Linked DNA regions of Homo sapiens: region 2 is linked to region 1. Evidence: promoter capture Hi-C in human tissues and cell types (Jung and others, 2019). All regions are on one chromosome and are shown on one strand. The core of a region is centred on a gene start or on the middle of the fragment in contact, and the rest is flanking DNA. Distances in the headings are between cores, read along the strand shown. Region 1 holds the start of TMEM126A (transmembrane protein 126A). Region 2 overlaps LOC105369421 (a long non-coding RNA gene).

Region 1 (4,815 bases), core at 678-3,177:
TCTGGCTCTTTTTTTTTTTTTTTTTTAACTTTTCAACCTTATTGGCCATTATTCTCTACAAGATGGTGGTTTATAGTTTCTACATAATTAGGAAACACAGACAGTTACAGAGAAGGCCTAGTGAAATTCCATTAAGGCAAAGGTAGTAAGCAGAATATTGTGATTTGTTTGCTTAAAACCTTGAGATGAAAAGCAAAGTGAGTAAAAGACTAGATGACCAGGCACGCTGGTTCACGCCTGTAATCCCTGCACTTTGGGAGACCGAGGCGGGTGGATCACCTGAGGTCAGGAGTTCGAGACCAGCCTGGCTAACGTGGTGAAATCCTGTCTTTACTAAAAAATAAGCCGAGGCTGGGCACGGTGGCTCACGCCTGTTATCCCAGCACTTTGGGAGGCCGAGGCGGGTGGATCACGAGGTCAGGAGATAGAGACCATCCCGGCTAACACAGTGAAACCCCGTCTCTACTAGAAATACAAAAAAATTAGCCAGGCGTGGTGGCAGGAGCCTGTAGTCCCAGCTACTTGGGAGGCTGAGGCAGGAGAATGCTGTGAACCCAGGAGGCGGGGCTTGCAGTGAGCCGAAATCACACCACTACACTCCAGCCTGGGTGACAGAACGAGACTCAGTCTCAAAAACAAAAAAAAAAATCAGCTGATCAGCTGGGCGTGGTGGCACACGCCTGTAATCCCAGCTACTCTGGAGGCTGAAGCAGGAGAATCGCTTGAACCTGGAAGGCAGAAGTTGCAATGAGCTGAGATCAGGCCATTGCACTCCAGCCTGGCCGACGAGAGCAAAACTCTGTCTAAAAAATAAAAAATAAAAATAAAAAAAAGACTAGGAATTTTCCTTCTTGTACACCTTCGTGAAAATAAGTCTTTCTATTTGTGCAAGTTTAGAAACTGCAATTACAGACTTCTTGGCACTATGGAGCCTAATGGTCAAGCAACCCTGCAATGGAGAGACAGTATAAAAATTATCTGGACAATGCAACACTTTATCACTTGTTCAGAAATTTGAGAGGATGAGAATAATTAAGATTTCTGATAATGTGTTATGATCATGTATTTATTGCTACAGTTAGTTATATATTTTTTGGCACAATGTTTACCTGCTAATCTTAATGGAGTTAAGATAAAATTCAATTGTAGGCATTTTTCCCTTCTATTGGGTTAATTAGTCCAAGCGAACTGAGCAAAGGTTGCAGGGAGCCCCAGCATGGCTGAGGAAGACCTGGTGAGGCATCCACTGGCTGCTGGGAGGAGAGCATTAGAGGTACCTTCTGAACAGCACTGTCCAATAGAAATATAATGCAAGCCACATATATAATTCTAAATTTTCTAGTATTTATACTTAAAAAGCAAGAAGAAATAAGATGACTTTCACCCAACACTGCTTCCAAATAAGCAGTACTCTGGAGAACACGAGAAATCCTCAGAAAAATAAGCTGCAGCTCTGAGGTGCTGATTATGGTAGGGCAATCAATACAGATCAAAACATGGCACAGGGAGCTTAAGTTCCTAGGGAGAGTAGAAAATCGATAGAGCCAAGAAATAGCTCACCTTTGACTTATTTTTAACCTGAGTAGCTATCATATGCCAAGAGCTGTGCAGTTTTCATTTACCCCATGCCAAGAACGTAAGTAGGCTCTACTGACCAGGAAGTTAAGTAATATGCCCGAGGTACGTTTTCAATGGAAGAGGCTGACTGAGGGTCACCCAACTTATATCTCGAAATTTCACAATTTCTACAAGTTCTGTCCTGGGAGGCAAGAGTAGGTGAAACGAGCACACTCTACGCCAGGCAAACAAACCTCAACGCTTAGCCTCCCGGCACCTCCTAGGGCCGGAAGCTTCTCAGCCCAAAGCCGCTGCTGGCTGCAACCTCCGTCCCGCAGTCCAATTAGCAGCCGCGACCCGGCGCCCGCCCACGCCGCGTCACGAGTCAGCCAAAGATGGCTGCGCCCAGGTAATTTGAGCAAAGGCCACAGTGAACTCCGGCGTGGCTGAGGAAGGAGGAGGCACCCACAGGCTGCTGGGAGGAGAGCATAAGGTACTGGTATTCCGGGGGAGGGGGTGAAGTAAATGTCCCGGTGTCAGGAGAAGCACGACGCGGTGACACGCTAGCTACCAGCAGCGCTGCGCGTAAATGAGAGCAAGTAGAAGTGTAGTTAGCTCTTCCTGCTGTCTTTTCACTTTGCACTCTAGAAGGAAAGACCTTATATTTAAATTAACTCAGTAGAAAGGAGAAATGCCTGAGATTGAATTTAATCCCAGGTTTACTGTCAATTTACAAGGTGACCACGGCCAAATTTGATTTTCAGAGGTCCCACTTTACTTCTCTTTCAGATAGGCCCCACACTGCCTATCTCTCAGAGCTCTTCCAAGAATGACATGAGATAGGTAACACAAAAATCTTTCGAAATATTTGTAGTTTTTACAGGCGGCGTTGTCTTTGATAGATATTTGTTATTAATATCGGAGACAAAATGCCCACAGGGGCTGCCCAGTCAGCACTTATACTGAATTGAGTGACTTAATTGCCCTCAGTACAATATATACATACTAAATTTGATTATATATTTCACCACCCCATACACAAAATCATTCAGAGCTCCTGTACAGCAGAGATTGTGTCTTATCATCTTATCGTAGCCAAGGCCCTCAAAAATTTGACTACCAGAAACCTAGACATAAATTTCTAAGGCTGCTTTGTACTTATTAGGTTAGCTTTAAGTCTAGAGATATGGAATGTCAAGGTAATCAACATTTCCAAATGACCTCTTATCGATATAAAACAGGTAGCAATAAATATTTAAACGAGTGCCTGTAATGTTGTAGGAAATGAGAAAATCTGGTTTCATAAAAGCATGTTTTCCTTTGTTGTTATCCCTGAACTGTTTTTTTTTTTTTTTTTGTAGACCGAGTCTCGCTCTCACCCAGGCTGGAGTGCAGTGGCGAGATCTCGGCACACTGCAACCTCCACCTCCCAGGTTCAAGCGATTCTCCTGCCTCAGCCTCCCGAGTAGCTGGGATTACAGGCAGCTGCCGCCGTGCCTGGCTAATTTTTGTATTTTTAAAAGACAGGGAGTTTCACCATGTTGGCCAGGCTGGTCTCGAACTCCTGACCTCAGGTGATCCGTCTGCCTTGGCCTCCCAAGGTGCTGGGATTACAGGCGTGAGCCACTGCATCCAGCCTTTGTTTTTCTTAACTGTTACCCTGAAACCTGAGCCAAATCTTCATCATTCACCATTCCCTTCACATTTTCACCCTAACTAGTGCAGACATCAACAAACTACTGGCATGTAGGCCATATGCAGCCTATAGCTTGCCTTGGTACAGCCACCCAGCTAAGAATGATTTTTATGTTTTTATAGTTTTTTTAAAAACAAATATTCAACAAAGGCTGTATGTTACCTGCAAAGCCTACCACATTTACATCTGGCCCTTTAAAGTTTGCTGAGCCCTGATCTCAGGTATACCTAGAAATGAAATTGCTAGCTATGTGTGTCTTCTATCTGCTAAATAATACCAAATTCTTTCCCAAAGTGACTGTACAGTTTGGGTAAAGCTACCCCACAGAATGTACACAGAATGTAGTTTTAGCTACCCCGCATTCTTGCCAATAATTGGAATTGTCAGATTTTGATTTTAGCTAACCTATGGGTACCTATTGGTATCTCACTGTGGGTTGTTCCCCCAGTTATAATGAAGGTGAGCATATTTTCATGTTTATTGGCCATTTAACTTTCCTTTTTGTGAAGTGCCTGTTCAAATATTTTGTCAGTTTTTCCGTAGGGCTGCTTACCTTTTTCATGTTGATATGTAGTTCCATGTATGTTCTGGGTACTAACTACTCTTTTGTCAGTTCTATTGCATTTTCTCCCCCACTAGCTTATCTTTATGGTATATGTTGATAACCATAGGTTCTTAACTTCAATACTGTTAGTTTTATAAGTCTTTTATGTTTAGTGCTATTTGTGAATTGTTTAGGAAATACTTTCAAGGATTATGAAGATATTCTGTATTTCCTAAAAGCTTTATGTGTTGCTTTTCATGTTCTGGTTTCTGTTTCACTTAGATTTTTTTTTAATAATATGTATGCAATGATTTTTTTCAGATTAGCTCTACAGTATTATTTTTAGTCTTCAGAAGGTTTTTAAAATTCTTTGTATAAATTCTTGAGAAATGATATCTTCATGTTTTTTAAGGCTCAAAATGGAAAATCATAAATCCAATAATAAGGAAAACATAACAATTGTTGATATATCCAGAAAAATTAACCAGCTTCCAGAAGCAGAAAGGTAAGATCCCTTCTTAATTTAAAAACACCTTTTATCAGGTGGATTTTCACCATTGATTCATTATCTCAAGTTTATCTGGTTTGAGTATAAACAACATGGAATGTGAGAAGGAAATTGCCCTTTTCTTGCCTGGATGAGAGCGTTTAACCATTTTGCTCAACATCACATAGCTAATTGTGGAAGGTGAGGCTGGAACTCATGTCTTTGGACATACCTAATTGTATAATGTTTTGAGTTTTTCCATTAGGCTTGGAGTATAGTAAAATGTAAACATTTACAGACCCATTTAAATAACAAAACTTTAACTTTTAAAATGTCTTTTTTTTCCCAGTTCATTCTGTCAGTATGCTTACCAGTCTAAGAGTACCATAGAACACACATAGCAAGATAGAGAATGTCAGAGAAATAGGATCATGGCTAAAGATCTTTAAGATATTATTAAAGAGGGCCAGGCATGGTGGCTCACGCCAGTAATCCCAGCACTTTGGGAGGCCAGGGTGGGCAGATCACCTG
Region 2 (4,768 bases), core at 1,975-4,474, 710 kb after region 1:
CATTCAGTCTTAAAAAGGAAGGAATTTCTGACACATGTACAACACATAAGATACACAAATAAAATTAAAATCACTTTACGAAGTAATTATGCTATTTTTTAATTGATGTTTTTCCTAGAGAACTTGGAAGGCCTTTGATTATTTTTATTGGCTTTTACATTTATTTCACAAAAATTCAAAAACCTTTTTAGCATTTGAATTGTGAAGTACAATTATGTGTACATTTAAAAGTAAAATAGCATTTTATAATTTTTAACTGCCATTAATTACTGTTTTATGCCTGTGCTTTTGTGAGTTTCTCAGTCACATTGTTACAGTAGGTGGCTAGTCAGGCATGAGCAGGTCAGGAGAGGGCGTCGCCTGACCAAGCATGTCAGGCAACCACGAGCTGATGGTCAAGGGGTTATTAACTGTCTCTCTGAAATAATAATTGGTCACAGCCAGCACCAGGGAAAGTCAGTCTCCCTATAGATAGAAAAAAACTGAAAATGGTGATCAGTAGCTTCCCAGTAGGATCTCAGGAGTTGGGCAAACGGGCTCAAGTATGTGCACTGAGAGGTGAAATGGCAGGGTTTAACTGGTATATGACCTTCTGGGGGCATTCCATCAGTAAAGGGAAGAAAGCCTCAGGTGAGCATGCATACAGCTCCAATATGCACACTGCGCATTCTCACCTCCCAAGTGCTGGCAGGCCACTGTGTATGCAGGCAACCCACCCCAAGGGAAGAATCAGGGGAGAGGGGATGCAAGACCCTGAACGTATGCCAGCATATAAAACCCCAAGTCAAAAGGTCCTTCCTTCAAGTTGCCCATTTGGCCCTCTGCCAAGTGTACTTTCCTTTCTTTTGTTCTTGCTCTAAAGCTTTGTAATAAGCTTCCACTCCTGCTCTAAAACTTGCCTTGGTTTCTCCTTCTACTTCATGCCCCTCAGTCAAATTCTTTCTTCTGAGGAGGCAAGAGCTGAGGTTGCTGCAGACCTGTATGGATTCGTCACTGTAACAAAATGGTTTGCTTATGTGATAATGATTATTCTCAATAATGACAAGCCCAAATGACAACTGACTATTTTGTCACAACTGATTATTTGTTTGTTTTTGAGATGGGGTCTTGCTCTGTTGTCCAGGCTGGAGTGCAGTCATGCAATCTCAGCTCACTGCAACTTCCGCCTCCCAGGTTCAAGGGATTCTCCTGCCTCAGCCTCCCAAGTAGCTGGGATTACAGGTGTGTGCTACCACGCCCAACTAATTTTTGTTGTATTAGTAGAGACAGGGTTTCAACATGTTGGCCAGGCTGGTCTCAAACTCCTGACCTTAAGTGATCCACTTGCCTCAGCCTCCCAAAGTGCTGGGATTACAGGCATGAGCCACTGTGCCTGGCCACAACTGATTATTTTGTTAGAGCCTGACCCAGAGAATCCATTACCAGTTTTAGTTCTGTAGGTTTTTTCTTTAATCTCCTCTTTTCAAGAACTTCATCAAATACCTAATTGAGCACTGAGGTTCAGTCCCAACAAATGTTTGATGCTGTCAGAGGCATGTGAACCACAGCAACTCCATCTTAAATAGGAACTAGGCAAAGTGGGGCTGCATTCCCAGATGGTTAAGGCATTCTTAGTCCCAGGATGAGATAGGAGGTCAGCACAAGATACAGGTCATAAAGACCTTGCTGATAAAATAGGTTGCACTAAAGAAGCTTGCTAAAACCCACCAAAACCAAGATGGCAATGAGAGTCACCTCTGGTTGTCCTCACTGCTGCAATCCCACCAGTACCATGACAATGTCATGCCATGGCAACATCAGGAAGTTACCATATATGGTCTAAAAATGGGAGGCATGGATAATCCACCCCTTGTTTAGCATATCATCAAGAAATAACCATAAAAATGGGCAACCAGCAGCCCTCAGGGCTGCTCTGTCTGTGGAGCAGAGATTCTTTTATTCCTTTACTTTCCTCATAAACTTGCTTTCACTTTATGGGCTCGCCTTGAATTCTTTCTTGTGGGAGATCCAAGAACCCTCTCTTGGGGTCTGGATCCAGACCCCTTTCCTGTAATAATACCCTTGTAAACCAAAAATAAAATTCTAAGCCACTCAGCTTACTGAATGGACTCCTTTTGGCCAAGGGGATCCCAAATAAAAAACTTGTTAAGGCCATGATGGGAAGTGGAGGTTGAGGCCAGACATGCTTTGTTATGCCCTCCTCCCTTTGGAGTTAAGGCACAACTGACCAGCATTAACATTAAAACAGAAATCATAAGATTGATAAAACAGACTGTTGTTAGTAATAAGATACCCAACTCCAGCCTGACTCTGGTATAACATCACATGACAGCGGCCCTAAAGGAAATCAAAGTATTTTATCCCAAAATATATTTCTTTGACGTATTTTGGAATGGCCCTGCAAAGCTGTCTCCTGTGGGGGAAATTTGCATTCTTTAGAGAATCCCCTTCTCTTTACAAGTCTTTTCCTAATCCAGGAGAGATTTAATACCTTTTAAGGTCTGACAGACATTTATTATCTATTCTCCCAGAAGCCTGTTACTTACAGGCTTCATCTACATAACAAGAACCTTGGCTTCCAGGTGGTGAGGTAGCTCGTGCTTGTAATCCCAGCACTTTGGGAGGCCAAAGCAGGTTGATCACGAGGTCAGGAGCTCAAGACCAGCCTGGCCAACATAGTGAAACCCTGTCTCTACTAAAAAATACAAAAATTAGCCAGGCATGGTGGTGTGTGCCTGTAGTTCCAGCTACTTGGGAGGCTGAGGCAGGAGAATCGCTTGAACCTGGGAGGCGGAGGTTACAGTGAGCCGAGATTGCACCACTGCATGCCAGCTTGGGCAACAGAGAGAGACTTTGTCTCAAAATAAATAAATAAATAAATAAATAAAATAAAAAGAACCTTGGCTTCCACAACCCCCCTTATCTTAAGCATTTCTTTATGTCGACTTCCATTTCTCAAGCAAAGCTTAATCCTTTTAATCGTCAATCAGAAAATCTTTGAATGCATCTATGACCTGGAAGAACTCCTCCACCCACATCCCCCACTCTCTGCTTCAAGATATCCTGCCTTTTATACCTTACATGTATTGATTTATGTCTTTGCCTATAACTTCTGTCTCTCTAAAATGTATAAAACCAAGCTATAATCCAACCACCTTGGGCACATGTTCTCAGGACCTCCTGAGGCTGTGTCACAGGCCATGACACTCATATTTGGCTTAGAATAAACCACGTCAAATATTTCACAGAGTTGGACTTTTTTTTTGCTAACACCCTCAAGCCTCAAATAACAAAAGCAGTCCAATAAAGCATTGAAGTGAGGACCAGTTGTTACAGGAGAGGGGTCCCAATCCAGACCCCAAGAGAGGGTTCTTGGATATCATGCAAGAAAGAATTCAGGGCGAGTCCACAGTGCAAAGTAAAAGCAAGTTTATTAAGAAAATAAAGTGGTGAAAGAACAGCTACTCCATTGATAAGAGTAGGACGTTCCTGAAAGTCAGAAGAGGAATGCGTCCACCCTAGGTACAATGCTTGTATATACGGGGAGATGTGCTCTGCTACAAGGGTTTGTGATAAAGGATTAATTTTCTTAATTACTATATTTTGCAAGAATTGATACTATTATCTTTAAAGCAAAATCAGGAATGCCTTTCTTCTCCAGATATCAGGATATCTGGACACTCCCAAGTCTGGGTCTGTTTAGGAAACATTATTAATTTGTTCCCTTAACCGTAAACATTTAGAGGCTAGGAATGCCTCATTTTCTGAGAATGCAGCCCAGCAAGTCCCAGTCTTATTTTCCTAGCCCTCACTCAAAATGGAGTCACTCTGGTTCAAACGCCTCTGACACAGTGACTGAGTATGCCCTTGGGTATGCCCTACTTATTTTCTAGTGTCAACTCTTTCGTTGACAGTTTCTCTGTATTTCTGAGAAAGGGATATCCCAGGGAGTCAGAAAGGGAATCAGCCTTACAATCTCTCCAGCTACTGACACTTCTCCTCTATAGTGAGCCACAGTGAGGGGGAGGCCAGTCAGCAGCCATATGGAGTGGGGTTCTGCTTCCCTGATCCAAATAGGTTGTTTTCTCTGTGTACAAACTAGACCTTTATAGAGCTTCAAGCTGTTCTTTACTAAAGAGTCAAGTGAACATTCCTGAGTCACTTGGAGTCCATAGGCAGAGATCAGGCATTCAGCTTTTGGTCTAGTCTCTCCCCACCTCTAAGCAAGAGGAAGGCAGAACCTCACCTCATAAGCCATCAGATGACAGGCTATCTCAGGAGCAATTCTCCGTTTCTTTTACACAAACCACCCTTTAGCCCTCCGAATAAAGTTTCAGCCCCTAGTTTCTTTTGCATTTCATAGATTTTCTTGCTTAATATAGCCACTGGATGTACACATGTATTCTTTCTGCTTTTTTGTCTCCATTTGTCTCTTCAGGGAGAGAGATTCTGTAAAGACTGAAGAACAGGGGGAGTCCACTGAGTGCTTTCCAGCTGCAGCTGGTTTCCCCCTAAAGTACCACAAATCAATGTGCCATTATGAGGATTAATTGAGGATTAATTTTCGTTCCATCACTCTGCAATCTAATCTACATTAGAAACATCTAATCTTCCTATTGACATTTGTCCTTTCCTTTTTCTGGTTTCCATTTCAAAGGACCCTCACATTAACGGCACATGGCTCTACTTAAGCAACCTGGTTAACTAAAGCTAGGATTTAAATGTTTCTCTTTAATCCTCAAGTTTATTCTCTGATAATGGGGTGGAG

The links. The method cuts DNA at HindIII sites, captures the fragments that hold promoters and counts their contacts. A contact is called where the count stands out against the background at its distance.
Region 2: a contact is called between a fragment that was not itself captured here and the fragment with the promoter of TMEM126A in region 1, in 1 of the 25 tissues and cell types used here (H1 embryonic stem cells).

Annotation. Positions count from the first base shown.
Region 1 is chr11:85,646,040-85,650,854 of GRCh38, forward strand. It overlaps TMEM126A (transmembrane protein 126A), which reads left to right and starts at 1,928. Exons shown (of 5, transcript NM_032273.4): 1 at 1,928-2,050; 2 at 4,210-4,302. The coding sequence starts at 4,217. RefSeq lists enhancers at 1,689-1,738, 1,909-2,178. The HindIII fragment of the contact is 9,993 bases long and covers 1-4,815 here.
Region 2 is chr11:86,355,081-86,359,848 of GRCh38, forward strand. The region is part of intron 3 of LOC105369421 (a long non-coding RNA gene); the gene reads right to left. Among named protein-coding and RNA genes, the nearest start is that of CCDC81, 17 kb to the right of the region's middle. RefSeq lists an enhancer at 1,569-2,103. The HindIII fragment of the contact is 4,712 bases long and covers 869-4,768 here.